Regions from separate parts of the Homo sapiens genome. Here regions 2, 3, 4, 5, 6 and 7 are each linked to region 1. The links are contacts of gene promoters, found by promoter capture Hi-C in blood cells and fetal thymus (Javierre and others, 2016). All regions are on one chromosome and are shown on one strand. The core of a region is centred on a gene start or on the middle of the fragment in contact, and the rest is flanking DNA. Distances in the headings are between cores, read along the strand shown. Region 1 holds the start of SATB1-AS1 (SATB1 antisense RNA 1). Region 2 has its middle 250 kb from the start of SATB1-AS1. Region 3 has its middle 230 kb from the start of SATB1-AS1. Region 4 has its middle 210 kb from the start of SATB1-AS1. Region 5 has its middle 200 kb from the start of SATB1-AS1. Region 6 has its middle 170 kb from the start of SATB1-AS1. Region 7 has its middle 140 kb from the start of SATB1-AS1.

Region 1 (3,263 bases), core at 422-2,921:
ATTCAATAACCATGGATGAGGGGAAAAAAGCAGCATGAATACATGCTGTATTCTCCTTTATTTAGAAAAAGCACACAAAAATACAGCAGAGTTGATGTGTTTGTCACCAGGGCTTGAAAGTCGAATCAACCACTGTGTAAAAGATAAAATAAGACTGCACGGATATCAGGATTTTCCCAGCGTGCTTTATTCATAGCCATCTGACACAACAGGACCTAACAGAGCTTTTAGGAAAAACTGAATTCTCAGCCCACAATCACTTTCCAGGAACTTCCCTGCAAACAGTGCTGTGCGCTGGCAGGATGGAAATCTTAGCAATCTCCCTCCTGCTTCCATAGTTTCCTCCTCTCTAAATAAAATTATTTATGGGGACTTAATGAGAGAGCAAGCCTTGTGTGAAAGGAATTCAAGAAAGTGCGGCTTCTAAAAATACACCTAGGCAGCTCTACAGTCCTTATTGTTACAACCTGACGTTTTGCAGTTCATGCCATGAACCTAACTACACTTCTTGCCAAATACACACAAGCGTACAAAGAAGAGGAAAAGTAAAAACTATGTTACTATGTTTTATCTTTCTGCAATCCCTTTGAGTAAACAGTAGTAATTTTCTGTTGACATACTCAATGCAAATTTCCCAAAGGCTACACAATACAAAACAAAAGACCTGTTAGCTTCCTCAGAGCTGGGGGGAGGAGAGGCAGGGGGAGAGAAATAAAGTTGATGGAGCTCCAGTTTCTCCTAAGCCTGCAGTCCTGAGCCTCCAGTCACCCTAGTCTTTTTGTAGAGATTTTTTGAGTTTCAGTCTCCACTTGGGAAGGTTCCTTGGCCCCTTCTCTCCCAATGTCAATAAAACCCTCATCTCTCCCGCTTTGCCCCCAGCTTTTTGGGGAAATTGGACCTTGCCTAGGCGTCTTGTTCCAGTGGGTTGAAAAGTACAGCTGGTGATGTGAGGATAAATATTTAAACTAATGGGCTGGGTCACAGCGTGGGGGTCTTCAAGAGAGGGCCTCCTCCTCCTTCCGCCACGTGCTCCTCACTTGGGGTGCAGGGCTCCTGGACAAGGGGCTAAGACGGACGAGGGTGGGATGAAGGGAGATGGACAGACCAGACTGTAAGTGAAGGAGGCCCTCTAGGAAACATCGTCTCGACCGAACATTGACGGAGAAAAAAAAAATGGCCCAAATGCCCCTAGTGGGGAAGCATACACCCCACGCAGGCTGGGTTGGGGTGGGGGTGCTTCGCGGCCTCTCACCTGACTTCCTCCTCCGCCTGCACACACACTACAGTAACCCCCTCTACTCACCCCCCAAAACCCAGCCAAACAACAAGCAACAAGAGGAAGCCGCAGGCGACAAGAGGAGGAGTGCGCGTGTTGGGGGCCCCCGGAGAGGTGAGGGGGCAGGGTTGGCGGGCGACGAGAACCGCGCCGCGCACCCCAAGCGCACCCCCAAGCGCCCACACTTACCCCTCGAGGCTGAGGGTCCTGTCTTCCGCGCCAACCCCCGTGTGCGCCCCCTGGCCCGCCCTCGCCCCTCCGGCCCGCCGCCCCCCACACCCCGGCCGGCGCGCTGGGAGGGAGCCCGGGAGCGGTGCGCAGCAGCGGCGGCGGCGGCGGCGGCTCGGGCTCGGCTCGGCTCGGGCTTCAGTGCGCCTAGTGTCGCCAGCGGCCGCCGAGGCTCCCACCGCCAGGGGGAGAAGCCGGGCGGGCGCTGGGGAGGCGGGCCGGGCCCTGGCCGCCCCGCTGGCCAGCCCGCGCCGCACAAGCTCCGAAGCGGCGGCTACGCGGGGTCCGCCGAGCCCCCGGGCGCAGCGTGCCCGGTCCGAAGCGCCACGTCTGGATGCGCGTCCCGGGTGGCTGCGGGCTCCCGCGGGGGACGCCCCGGCCGCTCCGGTGCGCCTCCAGACTGCAGGCGCCGCGACCGACGAGACGAGAGCAGCTCCCGCCGGCCCCTTCCCCCTCCCGCCCCCGCCGCCGCCCCCTCCCCCTTCTCCCCCCCCCGCCCGTTAACATCTCCTCCCTCCCCCTCCTTCTCTTCCTTCCCTTGGCCCCGCGCGCTCGCTCGCTCGCTCCTCGCCTCGCTCTCCCCTTTAAACGCCCACTTCGTATGGGGAAAGAGGACAACTTGAAGTCAAGTTGCAATTAACTTCCGCGGCAGCCGCAGCTCCGGCGGCGGCGGCGGCGGCAGGAGAGGCAGAAGCCGCCGCCTCGGAAGTCCGACGCCGGCGCGCCCGCCCGGGGAGCCGTTCTTGGTTTCAGGCCCGCACTCGACAGCCACCGCCGCCCCCAACGTCCATGCCTGAGTGAGTTCTGCTCTTTTGCCTCCCTTTTCCCCTTGCTACTCTTGCTGTTTTATCTCTGTCCCTCTTTTTCCGGAATCAATCCAAACTTCTCCGTAGCACCCACTCCTCGTCCCCTATTGGGGCGGCTGGGCTCCCCTCTCGTGGGCGCAGGGCTTCAACGGTCTTCCGAGCCCCTTTTCTCACGCAGACGGACCTTGGAGGGGTGGGCTGGTAGAGTAGGGGAGAGCGGTCGGGATGGGGGATTTGAAGATGCCATTCGTTTTCTGTCTGGGTGTGGACACACCACCACACCTGCCCAATAGACCCTGGCTGAACAAACTCCTTCAGGTCACCGGTATGGCCCCTTTTAGAAAAGGAAAGGGGAGTGGAAAAGACCGAAGGAAGCAAATGGGGAAAAGGGGAGCCTCTCGGTGCGTTCTGGAGCCGGGCGGGCAGTAAGGTGCCTGGAGGAGTGGGCTGCGGGAGTGGTAATGTTCCCCCACCGGATCGCGAGTCTGCTCAGCATCCTTTCCCGGTCCATCTCCGCCTCCCTCCGCTCCCTGCCTGCGCGGCTGATTGTAAGCATCGGCGAAGAGGGGCCTGGGAAGTTTGTGGCAACTTCTGCATCCCGGGAGCTACTCGGGCGCCGGGGCGCTCAAGTTGGAGCCCGGAGTTTGAAAGCCGCGGCACTCCTCATTTCGAGCCCTCGCTGGCTGTAGCGAGGCCGGTCCTGGAGAGGCTGCTGGCGTGAATGTGGGTTTGGAGTTGGGCAAGAGGCAGAAGAAAGGGCCGTCCTCTTAGCAGGGGCCGGGACATCACAGGTGCAGCCTCGCAGTCCACACCGTGTTTCCCTCCTGCTGTCCAGACCCGAGCGCGGTGGCCTTTTCCTATTGCTCCAGTGCTAAGGCTCCCGGGCCGGCAGAACCGGGGTTTGGGAAACCACGACGAGAAGGACGAAGCAGGCAGGTGGCAGGTCCGGGGAG
Region 2 (3,263 bases), core at 394-2,893, 250 kb before region 1:
CTTCAGGTATAGGAGAATACCAAAGAGGAGCAAACAGTTTTACCTTGCAGAATCCAAGAAAACTCAGATTTGGAGGTATAGGTGAAAGGAAGGTGAAGTACAAAACTGAAAATAAGAGAACTGATCCAAAGTCTCAATACTATTCAGTGAGATCCCTGGTCCCTCTCTCCCCACGTCATATAACCAGATGAACACTGTGCAGGAGACCAGAAATTTACTCTGTGAAAAAATTGAGACTGAGAATTTCCAGATTCAAAAACCTGTGGGGTGAAGCTTAAGAATAAAAATAAGGAGATTGAGATAAACCATAGGCACAAAATCCATCCACTAGCTCCCTTCTCCTACCAGGCACCAGAGTAAAAACACCTACCCACTACCCAATGCAATGAACGAAAAGTGATCCAAAGCAAGGTACTCACCATAAGGTTCTAGAAAGAACAAGTCACATATCAAAGACTGAAAGTCATGATGATTCTGGACTTCTTATTAACAATACTGGAAGGAGAAAGACAGTGAAACAATACCTTTAAAAATCTGGAGAATAATAACCTAACATAAATTTTGTGCTCTGTCAATCATCAATCATGTCTCAGAGTAGAATAAGCATGTCATCAGAAATAGAAAAAGTTGTAAAAAATAAACTTTCTATATTTCCTTTATACTTCCTCTATTTTCTTCTCCATCAAAACCAAGAGAACGCTTGAAAATAGTGCTACATCTAAAACAGAGCGTCACACTCAAGAGAGAAAAAAATTTTCATTGGATGAGAGTGAAGGGAAGTCCCAGGATAAGTGTGTTTGTCCTAAAGAAAAACATATCAGAATTAGAGAAACATGATGAAAGGTTCCCAGAGAGAGCCAAATACTATACAAACACAGTAAGAAAATTTTTAAAAAATTAAAAATAGATACAAACACCTGATTCATTTAACTAATGGAAAAAAGTACTGAGAGTAGTTGTACATTTTCATTGGCATGTTGAAAAAGAATTACTGATAGGTACAAGCAAAGCAAGAATGCAAGCATATTATACAATTATTTGCTTGAGAAAATAAACCTGATGAAAGAAAATTGAATTATGTGATACCTTTTGATCTTGTAGTGAAGAATATTTAGAAAAACACTAAAATGTAAATAATGATGAACATTGATTTGATACCTCTATAAGGGAGAAAGGAAGTACAGGACATAAATCCTCATCTATCACAGTATAAACTCAGTAAAAAATGTCTAAAATTGAAAAATCAGTAAATATATGTATAAACATGTTATCTGAAAATATGGAATTAAATGTAAAATAATGATTAAGGGGTGAAAGTAGTTGCCTTTGAGAGCAGGTGTATGGGTAGAGATGAGATAAAAGACTGTTGGCTTTTGTTATGAGCTTTATGGTTTATCTTTAAAAATTATATGTAAATGTAACAAAGAAAATTTGAGCAGCAATTTAAAAACTGCCACCTGATTCAGTGGCCTCAATGCTGACTATGAGGAAACTACACTAAGAGGTTCTTTTCTGCTTGCAGTGACAAGAAATCGAGTCTGAGAAAGCTAGGAACATAAGAAATTGCTCCCTTGAATGGAACCACTTTGAAAATATTTAGTGCAGGAGTGGGATTGTCATCAGGTCTTTGAAAAGGGCATATCCAGCATGACTTAGAGAAGAGGAGAGTGAAGCAAGATCAAGACAGAGCCATGAGTCCACTGGATTTAGGAACACCATTTGGTGGCCTTGGTGGCAGAGGACTTTAATGTGGTGGTAGAGGTGGGAAGCTGATCACTGTGGATAGACATGCAAATAAGAAGTAAGACAATAAGGATATACTCATTTAAAATAAATTGTAGGAAAGATCAAGCATGAAATAGAAGAGAATTTAAGGTCAAGTGACATAGTTTTGCTTGTTTGTTTGCTTATATATCTTTAATATGGAAGAGGCTTGAGCTTATTTCAATGCTGAGAGGGAGGAAAGATAAAAGGAGATTCTGGAGAGAAGATAACAGAAGGGGCTATTTTACAAGGTAAGAAGTGGTAAATTCCAGAACTGGGGGAAACAATTCCTTTTTAAGTAGTTTATAGCCATGGAAGGGTCTGATTACCTCTCTCTCACACACATTTTTTTCTCTCTCTCTCTCATATTTTCTCCTTTAATTTTGATTGTATCTTCAGTTTCCTAATCTGAATTTACCAATAATTTCTGTATCAGTATTGAATAGACTCAGCTAACAAAAGTGTCTATTCATACTAGTTATAAAGACTTTTGCTTCTGTCCTACCACAATGGAAAAATCTTAATTTAAAAAAAAATCTTTTTGCTAATGTTGAAATAAGGATAAGTCCTGTATTTTCTTTGCTATGCAATCAGCAAAGATTCTGAAACAATTCCAGACCTATGTTAGGTACTGACTAATATTATTAGATTATGAGAAGGTTGTTAGTAACACAGCCATTTAAAAACAGAAAAGTCTCATCAGAAACAGGAGCTCTATTTGTACTGAGATCTCCAGATGACAAGCCATTTGATTTTGAAATGTGATGAATCAATTTTTGACAAAGATAAGGTAGACATATCCTGGTAGAATACTGGTTGATTTCTACTGTAGAGTAATCAAGTTGACAACACCTAAGTCAATGACACTCAAACTTTTCCTTTTCTGATTGCCCACTACCATCACCATCATTTTCCTGTAAGTCTTTCCTTAGCCTTTCTCCCAATCACAGTTAATGGCATCTCCCAAAAATGCAACCATACAAAAATTTTACTAGATATTACCTCCAAAAGTCCATGGATAACTTCAAAATCCTTATCTATTTTTCATAGCAGATCTTAAGAACTGAAAAGAAGAAAATATAGAGGACAAATGGAATCAAATTGTACTATCCACGCATGGTACCATCTAAAACATTATGTGGCTGCTTTACCCTTGATCTTATGGCCCGCTGAAATTCCCTAATAGGCTCCTTAATTTTTTCCCTTTAATTTTTAAATCTATTCAAATACTAAAACCTTGCAAGCTTCAAAAAAATGTGTCAGGAAGACTCTGCTACTCACTGAGTCTGGAACTCAGAATCAAGAACAACATAGGAACAGTCCAATGACTATTCTCTGAAAGGTTCAAAAGAATCAGGAATTGGGTTGTGGATGAACAAAACACAGCATATATACCACTTCGATCCTCACTTTCCACATTAGCCCAGTCCAACACATCACAAAAAAAAAGTATAGCATTCTTATTCCCTGAGTCTGAACAAGGAGTCAGAACCCTTCTC
Region 3 (3,263 bases), core at 475-2,974, 230 kb before region 1:
GGGAATACATTAGTGAGCAAAACAAATAGAAATCTCTGCCCCATGGAGGTTGAGTTGTGGTGGGAGAAGACAAATGATACATAATAAATAAAATAAATAATTTGAATGGCACACTAAATGGTTATAAATGCTATAGCAAAAAAGAAAAAGAAAGGGGTTTGAAAGTTTGGCAGGAAGTTTTTTGAGTTGAAAGGAAGGCAGACCATGCTTCAGTGTGCAATGTGATGATCAGGGTGGGGCTCACTGAGACATGAGATTAGTGCAAAATCCTGAGGAGGGTCTGTAAGTCAGTCAAGTGGGAATAGGAGGGGAAGAGCATTACAAGCATCAGGATCAGATAAGTAAAAACTCTAACAGCAAGGAGGCCAGTGTGGCTGGAAATAAGTATTGAAGAAACTAGTAGGGAAAAGGTGAGAAGGGCGATAGGAACCAGATAACATAGGGCCTTAAAGGCCATTGTGAGGACTTTGATTCTGAAGGAAACAGAGACCCTTTTGTAGAGTTTTAAGAAGGCAGTGATGTAATCCAATTGATGCTTTTGGAAAATCCTTTGACTGCTGTATTGAAATTTTTTCAACTGGGAGGACACAGGATAGTAGTGGAACAACTGGTTTAGAGGCAGAATATGGAAGAGGAGTAAAGCAACCAAAAAACGGTAGAATGATGAGAAGTTGTAAAAATGTAGATCTAAGTTAAAAGTAAAGCTCATAAGATTTCCTGATGTATTGAATATTACATGTAAAAGATAGGGGAGAGAATGAAGATCTCTAGATTTTGTGGCTGGGCAACTGGAAGAATGGAATTGCCATTAGCTTGAATGAAGAAGACTATGGGTTGAGCAAGTTTCAGGGCAGCGAGATTAGGAACTAAGTTAGGCAAAACCAGTTTCAGAGGTCTATTAAACACTCAAGAAAAGATGTCCAATGTACAATTGGATCTATGAGACTAGGGCTCAAAAAAGATATCTGAATTGGGTATTTCAACTCTGGAGTCATCAGCATTCAGAAATATCTAAAGCCATGGGACTGGATAAAATCAACAGGCAAGTGAGTAGAGCTAGAGAGAGAAGATGACCACAGATCAGGAGAACAGATAAGTAACCAGTGAAGGAGGAAAGAATTCAAGGGAACACCCCTGGAAGCCAAATCAAGAAAGCATATCTATAAGAAAGGAGGGAGCAGTGACTACAAATGCTGCCAGTAGGTTGTATAGGAAGAAAAGGACTGAGAACTGATTTGGATACATAAAGATCATTGTTAATTTGATAAGAGCAGTTTTGCTGGAATGGTGATGGGGGTGGAGGATGCCTAACTATGCCAAGTTTAAAAAACAATAATAAGAGAAATTTTTGAGAAAATAAGAATAGATGCCTTTATCAAGAAGTTTTGCTGAAAATGAAAAAAAAAGGAATGATAAATTCTGTGAAAAGTAGAGTCAAATGAAGGCTTTTTGAGGTGGATGAAATTAAAGCATGATTCAGTGTTGACATTATATATGTTAAGCCCCTGTAAAAAGGCTTGCCCCATGGCAGCTAGCGTTATCTATATTCCCTATGTACCAGTTCCTTTTTTTTTTTTTTTAGACAGAGTTTCTGTCTGTCACCCAGGCTGTAGTGCAGTGGTGCTATCTCAGCTTACTGCAAGCTCTGCCTCCTGGGTTCACGCCATTCTCCTGCCTCAGCCTCCTGATTAGCTGGGACTACAGGCACCCGCCACCACACCTGGCTACTTTTTTTTTTTTTTTGTATTTTTTAGTAGAGACGGGGTTTCACCGTGTTAGCCAGGATGGTCTTGATCTCCTGACCTCGTAATCTGCCCGCCTCGGCCTCCCAAAAAGCTGGGATTACAGGCATGAGCCACCTCAGCCGGCCTGTACCAGTTCTTAAACTGAATAACCCTGGCTATCAAAAAGTATTTATGTATTGATACTTTCCAACATACAAGTACCTGTGAATATAAGTGACAAGATTGGCCTATGCCTGAAAGGGATGGGAAAACTCAACTGGAAAGAAAAGTCTTTCCCTGATTTGGAAATCTCTACACTACATTCAAGACAATCACACTATTTAAAGGAAAAATACTAAGAAGATTACCATGTTTTTTTGTAACCTCTTTGGAGCTATCACTTTTGCATCAAGAGACACATGATCTTCCTGAAACAACTCATTCTGTTATTTATAAAACAAAACATATTTTCTCAGAGATATAATGTCATAGTGATGCTTATATCCTTAGCTTAAGACTTCTAGCACTCTTCAAATCTATTCAATTCACAGTACAATTGGAACACTATGGAATGAAGAAGAAGGGAAAGACTAGAAGAAAGGTTAGATCAAGAGGAAAAATAATGTGATTAAGTAAGGAGAAGAGTTCCATACAGGTGACAGTAGGTGATTCAGCTAAATGGGAAGGACCAAGTAATTTCCATTACAATTATTGAAGTTTATATAGAATTTGGTGGTGTTTGTTTTGTCCAATCTCAGTTTTTTGATAGTTGCACCTTGATTTTTCCCTTGAAAACTATCTTTCCATTATCGCCAACAGATTTGGTGGAATGTAGATCTAGTTGCCGTGCCCTCTCCTTGACAAGCTGTAAGCAAAAACCCAAGCTGAAATAATGAACTCTTCATCTTAAAGGAAGTGGCAACAGGAAAGAAGAGTTGTCACTGTCTCCTTTCCATGAGAATTCCCTTAAGAGATAGTCTACTGGGTCCAACTTCCCAAATGCAGGGCTCATCTTGAGTCAATATACTCTGCTATGACTGTACTCATTTTTCACATAGGTATCCATTCCATTTGGTCAGTATCTGCACTGTACCTGTTGTTAAGTATTTTGTGTATAACATCTACATTGCCCTGGCCTCTGTCAATTTCAAGGCTCAGTTCTTCAGCTCTTCCTTTATATCTGTGAGTTATCACACATCTTAAAAATGAATTTCCTTCCACTCCTTTTTTCCTTTTGAAGTCAGGTACAGCTACTTGCAACCAAAGAATGCTAGAAATAGAGTGAACTAGTCTGGAAACCTGACTGTTACTGAAGACTTTCAAAATGACCTATTTTTAACATACCCTTTCCTAGGCTGAGACCTGTCCTTGTGTGCAACTTTACTCCTTTCACTACTTTTACACACTGACTTCATAAGATCTCTCACTATTTGATAACACTGGAATTTCTGCTTCTCCTACTCACCAAGTCCTCAATGGCACAAGAACAGATTAATGCTTAAAACTCTGTTCCCTTATTTTCACTTGGAATCAAGTAAT
Region 4 (3,263 bases), core at 518-3,017, 210 kb before region 1:
AGTGTTTGTGAAAGAGATTTATACTGTGATTCATCTGCAAAATAATCAAATCATTACCAGCTAATGACAAAGCTGTGAAAAATGATATAGATATTGTGTAACTTCCAGCTATGGCTGAGCACGTGGAGATACCCAATCCTTCCAGCAAATGTGGACTTGTGTTAATAACTGCTGGGAAGTTCGCTCTAGGTCCACTCTAATTTGGCAACAAAAAACATTGATCTTAATAAAGCTGTCTGATAAAAGGAGCAGTGATTAACATCCCAAACCCTCCATTCTGCTACTCATGCCAAGGTCCCTTTTTTTTTTTCCAGGAATGAAATTCCACTGCACTTCCTGCTTATCGCTTCATCTCACCTCAGCCTTCTCTGACTCTCCAGATAAGGCTGCAGACAGCCCAAGGAGGGGGTGGGGAGTAGGGAGTACCAGTGGGAGCCCACACTGGTGGCTGCAGGTGGCAGTTGCTGAGAAAGAAAAGCACAGCACAGTGAATTCCCAGAGTCTGAACCCCTTCCAAAGCCAACACCCATTCCTTCCAGAACTCAGAGGCATCTCTTCTTTTAGTGGGTCTTGAAAGACTGAGTGACTCTTGCTAATCCTGACAGCATCATCAAAGGTGTGGAGGAAGCTCCAGAGCATGCTCAAAGTCAGCAGAACCACTCTCAAATGGTATCAGGAAGCAGAAGAGGGCAGGAAGCAGAAACCCACAGATAATCCCCAAATCTCATGACAGCCGCTCCTTGTGACAAGCTGCTCCACCACATCTCTCATCCAAGCGACTAACAAGCAAATGGGCAGATTGGGATTTTACCTGCCTTCTGTCTTCCTCTGCACCACTACCACCAAATGATAAAAATTAGCATTTCTTGAGGTACTTTTTTAAAATGACGATTAAAAATTGTATATGTTTTTCATGTACAACAAGTTATTTTAAAGTATGTGTACGTTGTAGAATGGCTAAAGCAAGCTATCTTGAGGTCTTACTATGTGCCAGACATTAGCGCACTTCATAGCTACTTTTTCGTTAATCCTCACCACAAAGCTATGAACTAGGTATCATTATTCCCATTTTACAGTTAAATAGTTCTCTTAATGTTAAATTTAAAAATTGCAATATGATGGAGGCAAGACTGATTTCTGGTACATTCTAGCATCATATACCCTGCCCATTCAAACCATGTCATTATCTGTCTGAAGCTCTTAGTAAAGAATAAAAATACCCAAAATGAGGGCACTCAGAAGAGAGACAGAATGAGGTAGAATAAGAGGGGGAAAAAAAGGCATGTTTCAGCCACAGTTAATACTGAAGCAATCATGTTTTAACTCATTATCAAGAAATCTAGCTCCTTTTTTATTTCAGTCTTCACAAAGGAAAGCCCCAGTAAGTGGATAATCATTAATATTTCATTGAATACCAATCCATATTTTCCACAATCGTGACATGGACATTCCACTTCATCAGGAAGCCATTTTACAAAATTAGAAAAAGCAAGGCACCGTTCTGGAAAGCACAAGGCGAGACTACTTATCATTATTATTTATTACTTACTGGGTGCCAACTGGGTCCCTACTGTAGAGAAAAAGTTATAAAAGCCTCATGCAGAGGCAAGTGGTCCCCGTTCACTAGGTTCACAATTCAATTCTGATTTCATGACTACGACGGGCCCTGTGTCTTTAATTACTGGTAACTGTGACTGCCCTGGAACCACAAAAGGAAGATCAAAACTTTCTATCACTTTCTAGACATAAAGATAAATGAGAAGGGAAGCAATAAGTATAATTAATTTTAACCAGAGCTGGGAGAGGAAAACTTTCAGCTGTGGTACCATACATAGCATTTTATCAGAAGAGCCACTCTCCTAGCAGAGTCCCTACCACTGATTCCCAGATATGAAATAGACTGCCATTTCAAAAAGAACCAGGAGTGGAAAACCAATGTCACATGGTTTTCATGGCATTAGTTCAGCTCCAAGTGTCAGAAATAAGCATGTGATTTAACTGTACATGTGGCCCAGGAAAAGCAGGAGGAGTAAAGCTAGCAAGTTCAAAGCAAAGTTCAAATTGAAGCCATTCAGAGTGAGGCCACATCATAAGCCTTTGGACAGATGAGCATCTTGTGGGATTCAAGCAGAAGATGTGGTGTAAGTAATGAGACTGAAGTGATGAAGGAAGGGGAAATACACTCTCAGAGGTAAACTTGCCGTCAAGTCGTTGGGACTTAGCTGAATAATTCCCCCTAATGCTTAGACAAATAATGCTGCTAAATTCTTGGGAATCAGACCACCATGTCTCCACCCCTCAGCTTCCAGGAGCTTCTAAAAACCGGACTGAGCTAGCTGTAGGAAAAAATTAAATCCAAAATACATTCTTCATGATCATTTCAGAGAAGGGAGATACTCCCTAACTGTCAATACTGTGAGAAAAGGGGCTATACTTGACTCAGTTTTCCAAATCTGGACGGCAATCTCAGATGTTTTGAAGGAAGGCCAGAGATCTTCCTTGTGAAAAGGTTTTACTGGCTTTGCTTCTGCCACCAACTAACAGCAAATATTCTGAAATCCAGTCCCTATCCTGGTTCCTCAGCCACCCTCCTCCAATATCATCAGCAGTTGGAGCCTTTGCCATTGCCAAGAATTTCAGCTGTCTTTTATGTAATGTTTTCTACTTCTACCAACTCTTATGCAAGATTCTGCAAATCCTCAGCTTTAGCTAAAGAGTGCTGTCCAGCAGGACTTTTTGTGATGATGGAAATGCTCTACATCAGCACTGTCCTATATGGTAGCCACCTGCCACATGGGGCGAGTGCTATGGGATAAATAATGTGTTAAGTTTATTCAATTTTTAATGAATTTAAATTTAAATTGCCACATGTGACTATTGACTGCTATACTGTGCAGTACAGTTCTAAAGACACAATGTGGATTTTACCAAAGATGTAATAGCATAAATGGAAGAAGTTTATATTGCACATACCACAGAATTCTCTTCCCCAAGCTCCCTTGCTGCTAGTTGTGTCCATACAACACAATTCTGTCCAATACAAAGAGAGCCGAGAGTTACTGGGAGAGTTTATTTCTTATATGGAACCCAATTTCTTATTCACCCCTTTTGCTTTTCTTCTTTGTGTGTGTGTACATGATAATCTGCACATGTAGCAACCACATTGAATGCTAATGCCATACATCAAGATTGGCAGGGCAGAAAGTTGGTAAAAGGGCTAGCACACCTGGAACCATTGCACTAATCCTGGACTGCTAACCTGT
Region 5 (3,263 bases), core at 486-2,985, 200 kb before region 1:
ATAAGTTTTATGAAGGAGAGAGCCTGTATTCCCAAGGCCTAGGACAAACATACCTAATTTTATTGTGCTTCACTTTACTGCACTTTGCAGATATTCTGTTTTTTTACAAATTGAAGGTTTGTGGTAACACGAGTCAAGCAAGTCTACCGGCGCCATTTTTCCTACAGCATATGCTCACTTCCTGTCTCTATGTCACATTTTTGTAATTCTCACAATATCTCAAACTTTTAAATGATTATTAAATTTGGTATGGTGATCTGTGATCAGTGATCTTTGATGTTACTACTGTAATTGTTTCAGGGTGCCATGAACTGTGTCCATATGCAATGGCAAACAAACTATATATGTTGTGTGTGTTCTGACTGCTCCACCATCCAGCTGTTCTACCATCTCTTTCCCTCTCCTTGGGCCTCCCTATTCACTGAGACACAACAATATTGAAATTAGGCAAATCAATAATCCTATAATGGCCTTTAAGTGTTAAAGTAAAAGGAAGAGTTACCCATCTTCCACTTTAAGTCAAAAGCTAAAAATGATCAAGCTTAGTGAGGAAAGTATGTTGAAATCCAAGAGAGGCCAAAAGCTGGGTCTCTTGTGCCACAAGGTTAACTAAGTTGTGAATGTAAGGAAAAAATTCTTGAAGAAAATTAAAAGTGCTATACCAGTGAACACAAGAATGATAAGAAGCAAAACAGCCTTACTGCTGATCTGGAGAATATTTTAGTGATATGGATAGAAGATCAAGCCAGCCACGTTTCCTTAATGGCCAAAGCCTAATCCAAAGCAGTATTCAAACTCTCTTTATTTCTATTAAGGATGAGGGAGATGGGAAAGCTACAGAAGAGTTTAAAGCTGACAGAGGTTGGTTCATAAAGTTTAAGGAAAGAGGCCATCTCTATAACATAAAAGTACAAGATGGAGCAGCAAGTGCTGATGGAGAAGCTGCAGCATGTTATCCAAAAGATGTAGCTAAGATAATTAATGAAGACGGCTGCATTAGACAACAGATTTTCAAAGCAGATGAAACAGCCTTCTATCAGAAGTTGCCATCTAGGACTTTCATAGCTTAAGAGGAGAATTTAATGCCTGGCTTCGAAGTTTCAGAAGACAGGCTAGCTCTCTTGTTAGGGCCTAATGCAACTGGTGATTTTAAGTTGAAGCAAATGCTCATTTACCATTCCTAAAATCATAAGGCACTTAAGAAATATGCTAAACAGGCTCACCTGTGCTCTATAAATGGAACAACAAAGCCTCTATGATAGCACATTGGTTTACAGCATGGTTTACTGAATATTTTAAGCCCACTGTTGGGAACTACTGGTCAGAAAAAGGAAGATTCTTTTCAAAATAGTACTGCTCATTGACAATGCAGCTAGTCACCCAGGAGCTCTGGTGAAGATGTAGAAGGATTTTAATGTGGTTTCCATGCCTACTAACATAACTTCCATTCTGCAGGCCATGGATCAAAAAGTAATTTCAATTTTCAAGTCTTATTATTGAAGAAACACATTTTGTAGGGTTCCTTGGGGTGGTTGTTGCAATTTCTTAAAATAAGACAATAATAAAGTTTAAATAGGTCCCAAAGACAATGTTCACCTGATCCATCTGAGCAAAATAAATTAAAAACTTCTGGAAAGGACTCACCATTCTAGGTACTACTAAGAACATTTGTGATTCAGGAGAAGCAGTCAAAATATCAACATTCACAGGAGTTTGAAAAAGTTTATTTCAGTCCTCATGGATGACTTGGAGGGGTTCAAGACCAAGACTTCAGTGGAAAAAATAACTGCATGCAAATGGTGTGGAAATTGCAAGAGAACTAGAATTAGAAGTGGAGCCTGAAGATGTGACTGAATTGCTGCAATCTCATGATAAAACTTAAATAGATGAGGAGATGCTTCTTATGGATGAGAAAACAAAGTGGTTTCTTGAGATGGGATCTACTCCTGGTGAAGATCCTGTGAAGATTGTTGAAATGAAAGCAAAGGATTTAAAATATTATGTAAACTTAGTAGATAAAGCAGCAGCATGGTTTAAGAGGATTGACTCTAATTTTGAAAGAAATTCTACTGTAGGTTAAATGCTATCAAACAGCATTGCATGCTACAGAGAAATCTTTTATGAAAGGAAGAGTCAATTGATGCAGCACATTTTATTGTTCTCTTATTTTAAGAAATTGTGACAGTCACCCAAACTCCAGCTAACACCACCCTGATTAGTCAGAAGCCATCAACACTAAGGCAAGACCCTCCATAAGCAAAACGATTACAACTTGCTGAAGGATAAGATGATCATTAGCATTTTTTAACAATAAAGTACTTTAAATTAAGGAATGTACATTGATTTTTTAGACATAATGGTATTGCACACTTAACAGACTACAATACAGAGTAAACATAACTTTTATATGTATGGGAAGCCAAAAAACTTGTGTGACTTAATGGCAATATTCATTTTATTTCTGTGGTCTAAAACTGAACCTACAATATTTCTGAGGTATGCCTGTACATTGTAGACACTCAGTAAATATTTGTGAACGACATCAAAATGTTGGAATATGACCCTGGCTCTATCATTGTGTGATGTTGACCATTTAATCTTTTACAGCCTCAACTTTTGAAAATATAAAATGGAAAAAGCAATGTTTATGCTACCTGTTTTAAGGAATATCTCATAATAACATAAGACAACAAAAAAACACCACATTTACTGAGCTGTTAATAAGTACCATATTAAGCTAAGTGCTTTATGTCCTACTCTTCATTTAATCCTCACAAACCTACATTATTTCCCTTTTGTCAGATAAGGAAACCAAGCACCTAGAGAGCTTAAATAGCTTAGGTCCCATGGTAAAAGACAGAAGCAAGATTCAAACTCCAGAGCCTGCTTAGTTAATCACTACATATGGCTTAATTTTCCCCAAGCTTGGAAATTGAAATGAGCTGCTGCAAAATTTGTTTGTCTTTTATAAATCATGGGATAACTTGTTCTATATGACCAACAACTTCTTTGTACTTAGCTGTCCAATCCTCTGAACCTTCAGCCACCATCATTGGGGAACAGGAAGACATGGATGATAAATCACATAAGGTCTTTTGGGTAGTGGGTAATTGCTGGTGAGCTAATGTAAAGAAGGGGAAATACTTATTAGAAAAGTACTAGATTGTTCCTAGAACTAAGGAAGAGTTAAATAATGCCTTGGGATGAAAGCAGACCTGTGCAACAGGACATTCACAATGAAACAATAGCTCCAAAGCATCTTC
Region 6 (3,263 bases), core at 352-2,851, 170 kb before region 1:
AACCACAATGGTTTAGTGCCATAGACTTTCATAAGTACCTTAACCTTCATAATTTCATACTAAGAAAAATTGTATAAGTAAAGCTGTTTAGTTGCCTTGCACTTTAGTTTACTTGTAGGAAAAACACATGCCAGAAACTTCAGTGTTCAACCAAGTGGCCTTGATTGTTTCAGGTTTGTCATCAGAACTTGTCTAAGTTCCATTAATGAGTTAATGTGTGTAAGAAAAATATGCATGCACGTATACAAATGCAATCTTCTTTTTGGGGGGAGAGGAAAGATAGGTGTAGTCTTAACATCAACACCCTTGCACTACATTTATCACAGCTTTCCAAGAAATTTTGCACTGAATGAAATTTACAGCAGAGCCCTAAAATGAAAACTTGGTTCAGGCAATTTATGAGAGAATGAGAGAATGACAGAGTAGCTAATACTTCCTGATACCAATAAAGATGGTGTACCAAGGGAGTACAGAAGGTGATAAATGCTATCTAGATAAAAAAGAAAGAAATGTTAAGATTGCCCGTATCATCTTTGAAATGTTGCAATGGTATGATTCTCTATGTGTAATTAGAATTCTACTAGTAACTCTACTAATAGCCTCTGTATCACAAGATATTTCTACCCCCTGTGATGCTGTAAAAGACTTCATGGGAGGAAAGCATAACGATGGGGCGAGGGAGAGAAAGAAATAGCAATCAACAGTAAAAGTAGACAAACAAACTACATCCAACCAATACCGTTTACACAAAACACAGTGGCATTGGGTCGTTTTTTTTTTTTTTTTTTTTGAAGACTTGGTTTTGTCTCCTTTTTAATTATGAAGGATAAAATAAAATTGAGTGACTGAGAGGAATAAATAGATAATGAAGTATCAAGGGTTTTTATATAGAAGCTCCTTATTAAAATGACTGTCTCCTTCAACTGTTTAATCTAATTTCTGCAAGGCAGGTTTTCACTTGTTCTGCTCATATAAATGCACAGGTATTAGAGGTATTATTAAGACACTGTGTAGTTCACACCCAGAGCTTGAAGAACTACTTTAACCCCTTAAATGCTCAATGAAGCAACTCATTCACTACTGGCCTTCTACTCTTTTTCTGTTCCCTCCCCTCCATGGATGCTTATAATATCAACTGACTTCTGGAATGTATTTTAACACCATACATGTTCAAACTTATGTGCAATATCCACCATGTACTATAAAATTCCAACCAATAACATATCTTTATTTATCACTTCTATCCAGTGTCTTCATCTAGGTATTAGAAAATACATGAAAGTTAATTCAAAGTCTATCCTCAGGATGCTTGGAGCCATAGATCTATAACAAGAAAACTTATCTCACCCACTTACTTAGTAGCTCAAGTTACCGTACAATTTAATGTACCAGGACATTTCTGAGAATAAAAGGAGGCACTATTAATCATACAAGGACAACAAGCATAAACTAGGAACCTAGTCAAACCTGGGTAAATGATCATCCTATTTATGGGTGTACAAACCATAAAAGCTATAAAGGTTTAGAGAACAGAAACTTTACCATTTTCTCATAGGAAGCCCCATTTCCAATCTTGATGTCTTTTTTACATATGACTGCTGAAACATAAGGTATTCAGATGGAGTCACCTTTTCAATGCACATGGATTGCAAGTGTGGTTATACATTTTGTACAGGACCATAGTATGAGGACCAGGTACACAGGTGTAGTCTGGAGCTCAAACAATTTTTACTGTCTTCCATGAGTACTCTGTTTTTCCTCACCTCATCTTGCTCCTATTCCAGCCATATCTATCCTTGACTTTTTCTTCAAGGCCCAAATCAGATCATTCCTCTTACACAAGCATCTACGTATTAGGTAGAATCACCTTCCCCACACACACTGCTGGATCTGTATCTTCATTTGTTGGTTTCATCCATTTCCATCTTTGAGTACATATAGACATATCACTCATCCTAAACTTCTGGTTTGATGATATAGTAGCCAGCCTCCAATAAGTCTTCACTGATTTTCATCTTCTGATATGAATAACTTTAATGTAGTTTTATCCTTCCCTTACCCTACCAGATACACAATAATAGGGCTAACTAATGTTTATAACCAATGAAGTGTTGTCAAAATGACAGTGTGATTTTTTTTTTTTTTTTTTGAGACAGAGTCTCACTCTGTCGCCCAGGCTGGAGTTCAGTGGCGCAATCTCAGCTCACTGCAACCTCCACCTCCCAGGCTCAAGCAATTCTCCTGCCTCAGCCTCCGGAGTGGCTGGGACTACAGGCATGGGCTACCATGCCCGGCTGATTTATTATATTTTTAGTAGAGATGGGGTTTCACCATGTTGGCCAGGTTGGTCTCGAATTCCTGACCTCAGGTGATCTGCCTGCCTTGGCCTCCCAAAGTGCTGGATTACAGGTGTGAGCCACTGCGCCCAGCCCAGAGTGTGATTTCTGATGCTACTTCATACGGGGCATTGAGGCTCCCTTCCTGCTCTCTGTTGGCTCTGGGAGAAGCCAGTTTCCCTATCATGAGAACAATTAAGCACCCCTGTTCAGAGATCATGTGGGGCATAAATGAGGCTTCTGGCCAATAAACAGCACTAATTTCTCAGGAATACCAGTGAACCACCTTAGAAGTGGGTCTTCTAGCCTCAGTTGAGCCTACAGATGACTGTAGAAAGTCTGACCAAAAACTCGTGAGCCCCTGAGTCAGAAGTACCAACAGCAATGTGGATCCTGAATTTCTGACCTACTGACCCACAGAAACTGTAAGATAATAAATGCATATTTGAGCCACTGAGTTTTGGGATAACTAATTATGCAGCAATAGATAATATGATAAAAGCCAAAAATGTTTAGATATTTTCCCAGTACTTAGCATGGTCTCCAGCACAGAACAAGAACTCTATAAATATTTGTTGGATTGAAATGAGTTAAATTGAATTATGCCCTAAGGCTGGGCACTGAGTTTACACATGACAATGCCTCTTAGGAGAGTGGGTACATTTCTGACCTGACAGGCCCTGAGTGAGCTTTCAGGAACAATTCGCTCATATAGGAATACGTAAGAGTAATTAATAATATCTAAGATTTTTTGAACAGTTGTGCAAAGCATTATGCTTCCAAGGTATAATCTCACTTTATCTGCATGAAATCCCTTTGAGTTAGATATTATTGTTTTCATTTGATAGACAAGGGCACTGAGACAAAATAAGTTAGGCGCCTTACTGTGACCACCTAGCCTAGCAAATAATGGGACTAAGAGTTGAA
Region 7 (3,263 bases), core at 294-2,793, 140 kb before region 1:
TTCCACCATACTACTTTAAAGAATATATTAAAGAGAGGGCGAAGGCAGGTGGTACATTTTTAACTGGCAGTTGAATATTTGCTTGGCTTAAAGCCAAATGAAATAACATAATCCTAACTGACTGGTACACTTCTCCCTGATCTCTTTAAATTCCTCTTTTTCAAATTCTTTATGACATTTAAATATTCTTAGAATTCACCAATATTATAAAACAATGAGATGGTTATAAATGAAGACAGCTAGTAACAATAATCATAATAAAATGACTATCTTTTACTGAGGATTTAGAATGTTCTTAGACTTTCTGTGATCATTATATCCCATGAAAACTGTAAGAGGTATACTTCACTCCCATTTTAAAGATGAAGGCACTAAGATTAGGAAAAATTAAATAGTTTGTTCAAGGTTCTGGCAATAACTAGAGGGAAGACAAGATTCAAACTCAAATTTATTATTTGCTTGTGTATTTGTTTTGCTCCAAAGCCCATTTTTCTCTGCTATAGTCCCAATACTCAGGTTGTCTATATTCCCTTCCCTTGATTCCCTATCTTTATAAAGTGCTATCTAAAACTTTTTCAGGTTTTGTTGCTGGCTCCAGAGAGAATGCCACTGGAAAGTGACTGTTTCCAACTCTGCTGTTCACAGAATGGCTCCCACGTGGCTGGTGCTCAATCAGTGTTAAATAATAACAGCTCAACCCAGTAATGATAAAGCAGGAAGTGCCTCCCTCTTTATACTTTTAATGACTTCATAGGGTTCTTTTTTGTTAATTGTTTAATCACAAATTTCAGTTATTGCTATTTACATGCTCTTTTTCAACTTTTGAATACAGTCTTATTTCTATTTTGCCAAGCTTTCGGAAACACCAAATTAGAAACAAGCCTATTGTCTTTCACACAATTTCTGCGCTGTGAAGAATGAAAAACACCACCAGAGTGCCTGCGTGCCTAATAAGGGAAAAAGAAAGAAAGGAAAAGAAGCCATTGTAAGTTGTCTAAGGAATAATACCTTTAGGTCAAGTGCCCCAAAGGCCAAAAGTCACTCCTTCTATAATAGAAAATACACACATGCCACCTTCATAATGCTAACAGACAAACCAAAGAGGATAACTTTATACAGGTAGAAAATCGAATGGAAGTAAAGGAGTCATTGAATAAATGTAAAACAGATAGGCTTTTGTGGTGGTTTGAGTGATTGACCTCTTCTTCGAAGAAAAAAAAAATAGATTTAACACTCAGTCTTGGTGAGTGAAATTAGAGATTAAAAGAAAAAAAAATACCCTGCCTGGAGAATTAAGAAAAGGGTAAGTACATTAAGTTTGAGCCAGCATTGTTACCATTTTATGATAAGCCACCTGTACACACTATATAGCACTAAACGTTAGATGGCCTCCATGCCCTAAAACACTTGAAGTCGATGCTTATCTCAAAGAAGTGGAATTTTTAACCCCAAACTGAAAAATGTATATCCTTCTCATAAAACCTTTTTGACATTCAAATACTAAGACGACAGATAATTTAGACCCATTAATTACTAACTACACCAACTTTACTACTATTACATACCAACCTTGAAAATGAACAACAGCATATGTACTAGGAGAGTGAAAAGCCTTGAAAGAACGCTTGAGGAAATCCAACAGAAAGCCTTAAATACGTATTGCCAAAGGTGATTACGTTTGTTCCTGAGGAATGCCTTTTTGTTCCTAAACCTAGCAACCATCCAAGGAGTAAAGGGATTATTGGAAAAGTAAGAAAAGAGGAGAAGATATGAAATAGGTTTCAAACCGGGCAAGCCCCCTGAAAAATTCTGACTATACAGTGCTTCTTTGAATTTGTATATTTTTTACAACACACTTAAAATTTGAGTATTCTAAATAAAATCCAGATCATTAGGTTTCCTTTAGATATCAGAAGATCTGGAAAAGTGAGCATGTAATTCCACAGGGCAGTAAGCCGCTGGGCTGAGAAATGGTTACTGCCTTCCATCCCTTTCATGGGAAGGGCTTGTGCTCTTCAGTTTGCTGAACTCTCTATTACTGATACCCTGCCTTCTTACTTCACTTCCATCATCTGTATGGCACCTGCGAGCATTTTTAAGGCTTTTACCTTTGTCGTAAACATTGGAGAGGGAATACATGTGCTGTGTATTTGAACTTTTTTTTTCTAAAGTTTTTAGAATATTTATTTTTGGATGTGAATATGTGGAAACAAAAATACACTGAAAAGCTTCTATATTCATAGTTGAATGACGTGACTTTGATCCCACTTCAACCCTTAATTAGCTGAGCACTCTGAGGCAAACTATTTTAACCTCTTGGACCTGGATTTCTTTATTAGTAAAGTAAAGATGCCCTACTAAGTTACCTTTAGTGTTCCTTCCAGTTCTAGATGGCTGTGCCACTCATGTGGCTAAACCATGTGGGTTCAGGAGTCAACCTGATGTATACGTTACCTCCTGGCATGAGGGTGAGAGTGGATGGGGAAACCATCCTAATGACATCCTAATGACACCTTGTATGTGATGATAGAACGGTGATTTTAATCCCCTCTGAACAGTAAAATTCTAAGGGAAAGGAGTAGGAAATTTCCTTTTAATAGGACAGAAAATTGAGATATTTAATTTCAATTAAATACAAATAATAATTCTGTATGACAAAATCCTCCTGCTATAGGTTGAATTATATCCCCCTCCAAAAAAAATGATGTCATAAGTCCTAGCCCCTAGTATTTCAGAATATGACCCCATTTGGGAGTTGGGTATTCATAGAGATAATCAAGTTAAAATGAAGTAATTAGGGTGGGCCCTAATCCTGTAGCAGAGCTGTCCTTATATATAGGAGAACTGTAGCCACTGACAGACACATTCAGATGTAAAGACACAGGGAAGACACCATCTACAAGACAACAAATGCCAATGCTACCAGAAGCTAGAAGAGAGGCAGGAACAAATTCTCCCTCACAACCACGAAGGAACCAACCGTGATCTTGGACTTCTAGCCTCCAGAGCTGCGAGACAATAAATTTCTGTTGTTTAAGGCAACAAGCGTGTGGTACTTTGCTATGACAGCTCTACCAAACTAATATACCATCTTACATCCATTTTCTCCAGCTAACTAGAGGCATGGAATTGTTTTAGAGGGAAGGGGATAGTGAGGGTTAGTAGCAGGGTAGAAAGGAAATAATAGCCTCATGACCCCCACAGCAACATGATGCAGATCATCTTGATTTCTTCAATTGTACATTGCCAGGCTATAAACAAGG

The links. The method cuts DNA at HindIII sites, captures the fragments that hold promoters and counts their contacts. A CHiCAGO score of 5 or more calls a contact.
Region 2: a contact is called between a fragment that was not itself captured here and the fragment with the promoter of SATB1-AS1 in region 1, in 3 of 17 cell types (activated CD4 T cells, naive CD4 T cells and total CD4 T cells). The highest score is 7.9, in activated CD4 T cells.
Region 3: a contact is called between a fragment that was not itself captured here and the fragment with the promoter of SATB1-AS1 in region 1, in 7 of 17 cell types (activated CD4 T cells, naive CD4 T cells, total CD4 T cells and 4 more). The highest score is 14.3, in activated CD4 T cells.
Region 4: a contact is called between a fragment that was not itself captured here and the fragment with the promoter of SATB1-AS1 in region 1, in 6 of 17 cell types (activated CD4 T cells, naive CD4 T cells, non-activated CD4 T cells and 3 more). The highest score is 11.3, in activated CD4 T cells.
Region 5: a fragment that was not itself captured here is called in contact with the fragment with the promoter of SATB1-AS1 in region 1 in 2 of 17 cell types (activated CD4 T cells and total CD4 T cells); the score reaches 8.2 in activated CD4 T cells.
Region 6: a fragment that was not itself captured here is called in contact with the fragment with the promoter of SATB1-AS1 in region 1 in 1 of 17 cell types (activated CD4 T cells); the score reaches 6.4 in activated CD4 T cells.
Region 7: a contact is called between a fragment that was not itself captured here and the fragment with the promoter of SATB1-AS1 in region 1, in 1 of 17 cell types (activated CD4 T cells). The highest score is 5.1, in activated CD4 T cells.

Annotation. Positions count from the first base shown.
Region 1 is chr3:18,443,645-18,446,907 of GRCh38, reverse strand. It overlaps SATB1-AS1 (SATB1 antisense RNA 1), which reads right to left and starts at 1,671. Exons shown (of 7, transcript NR_125803.1): 1 at 1,466-1,671. It also overlaps a transcript of SATB1 not described here. RefSeq lists a silencer at 1,546-1,765. The HindIII fragment of the contact is 8,267 bases long and covers 1-3,263 here.
Region 2 is chr3:18,695,132-18,698,394 of GRCh38, reverse strand. No RefSeq gene overlaps it. Among named protein-coding and RNA genes, the nearest start is that of SATB1-AS1, 250 kb to the right of the region's middle. The HindIII fragment of the contact is 2,735 bases long and covers 276-3,010 here.
Region 3 is chr3:18,675,164-18,678,426 of GRCh38, reverse strand. No RefSeq gene overlaps it. Among named protein-coding and RNA genes, the nearest start is that of SATB1-AS1, 230 kb to the right of the region's middle. The HindIII fragment of the contact is 4,732 bases long and covers 1-3,263 here.
Region 4 is chr3:18,655,445-18,658,707 of GRCh38, reverse strand. No RefSeq gene overlaps it. Among named protein-coding and RNA genes, the nearest start is that of SATB1-AS1, 210 kb to the right of the region's middle. The HindIII fragment of the contact is 3,888 bases long and covers 1-3,263 here.
Region 5 is chr3:18,638,870-18,642,132 of GRCh38, reverse strand. No RefSeq gene overlaps it. Among named protein-coding and RNA genes, the nearest start is that of SATB1-AS1, 200 kb to the right of the region's middle. The HindIII fragment of the contact is 2,383 bases long and covers 544-2,926 here.
Region 6 is chr3:18,614,290-18,617,552 of GRCh38, reverse strand. No RefSeq gene overlaps it. Among named protein-coding and RNA genes, the nearest start is that of SATB1-AS1, 170 kb to the right of the region's middle. The HindIII fragment of the contact is 5,486 bases long and covers 1-3,263 here.
Region 7 is chr3:18,587,469-18,590,731 of GRCh38, reverse strand. No RefSeq gene overlaps it. Among named protein-coding and RNA genes, the nearest start is that of SATB1-AS1, 140 kb to the right of the region's middle. The HindIII fragment of the contact is 1,375 bases long and covers 856-2,230 here.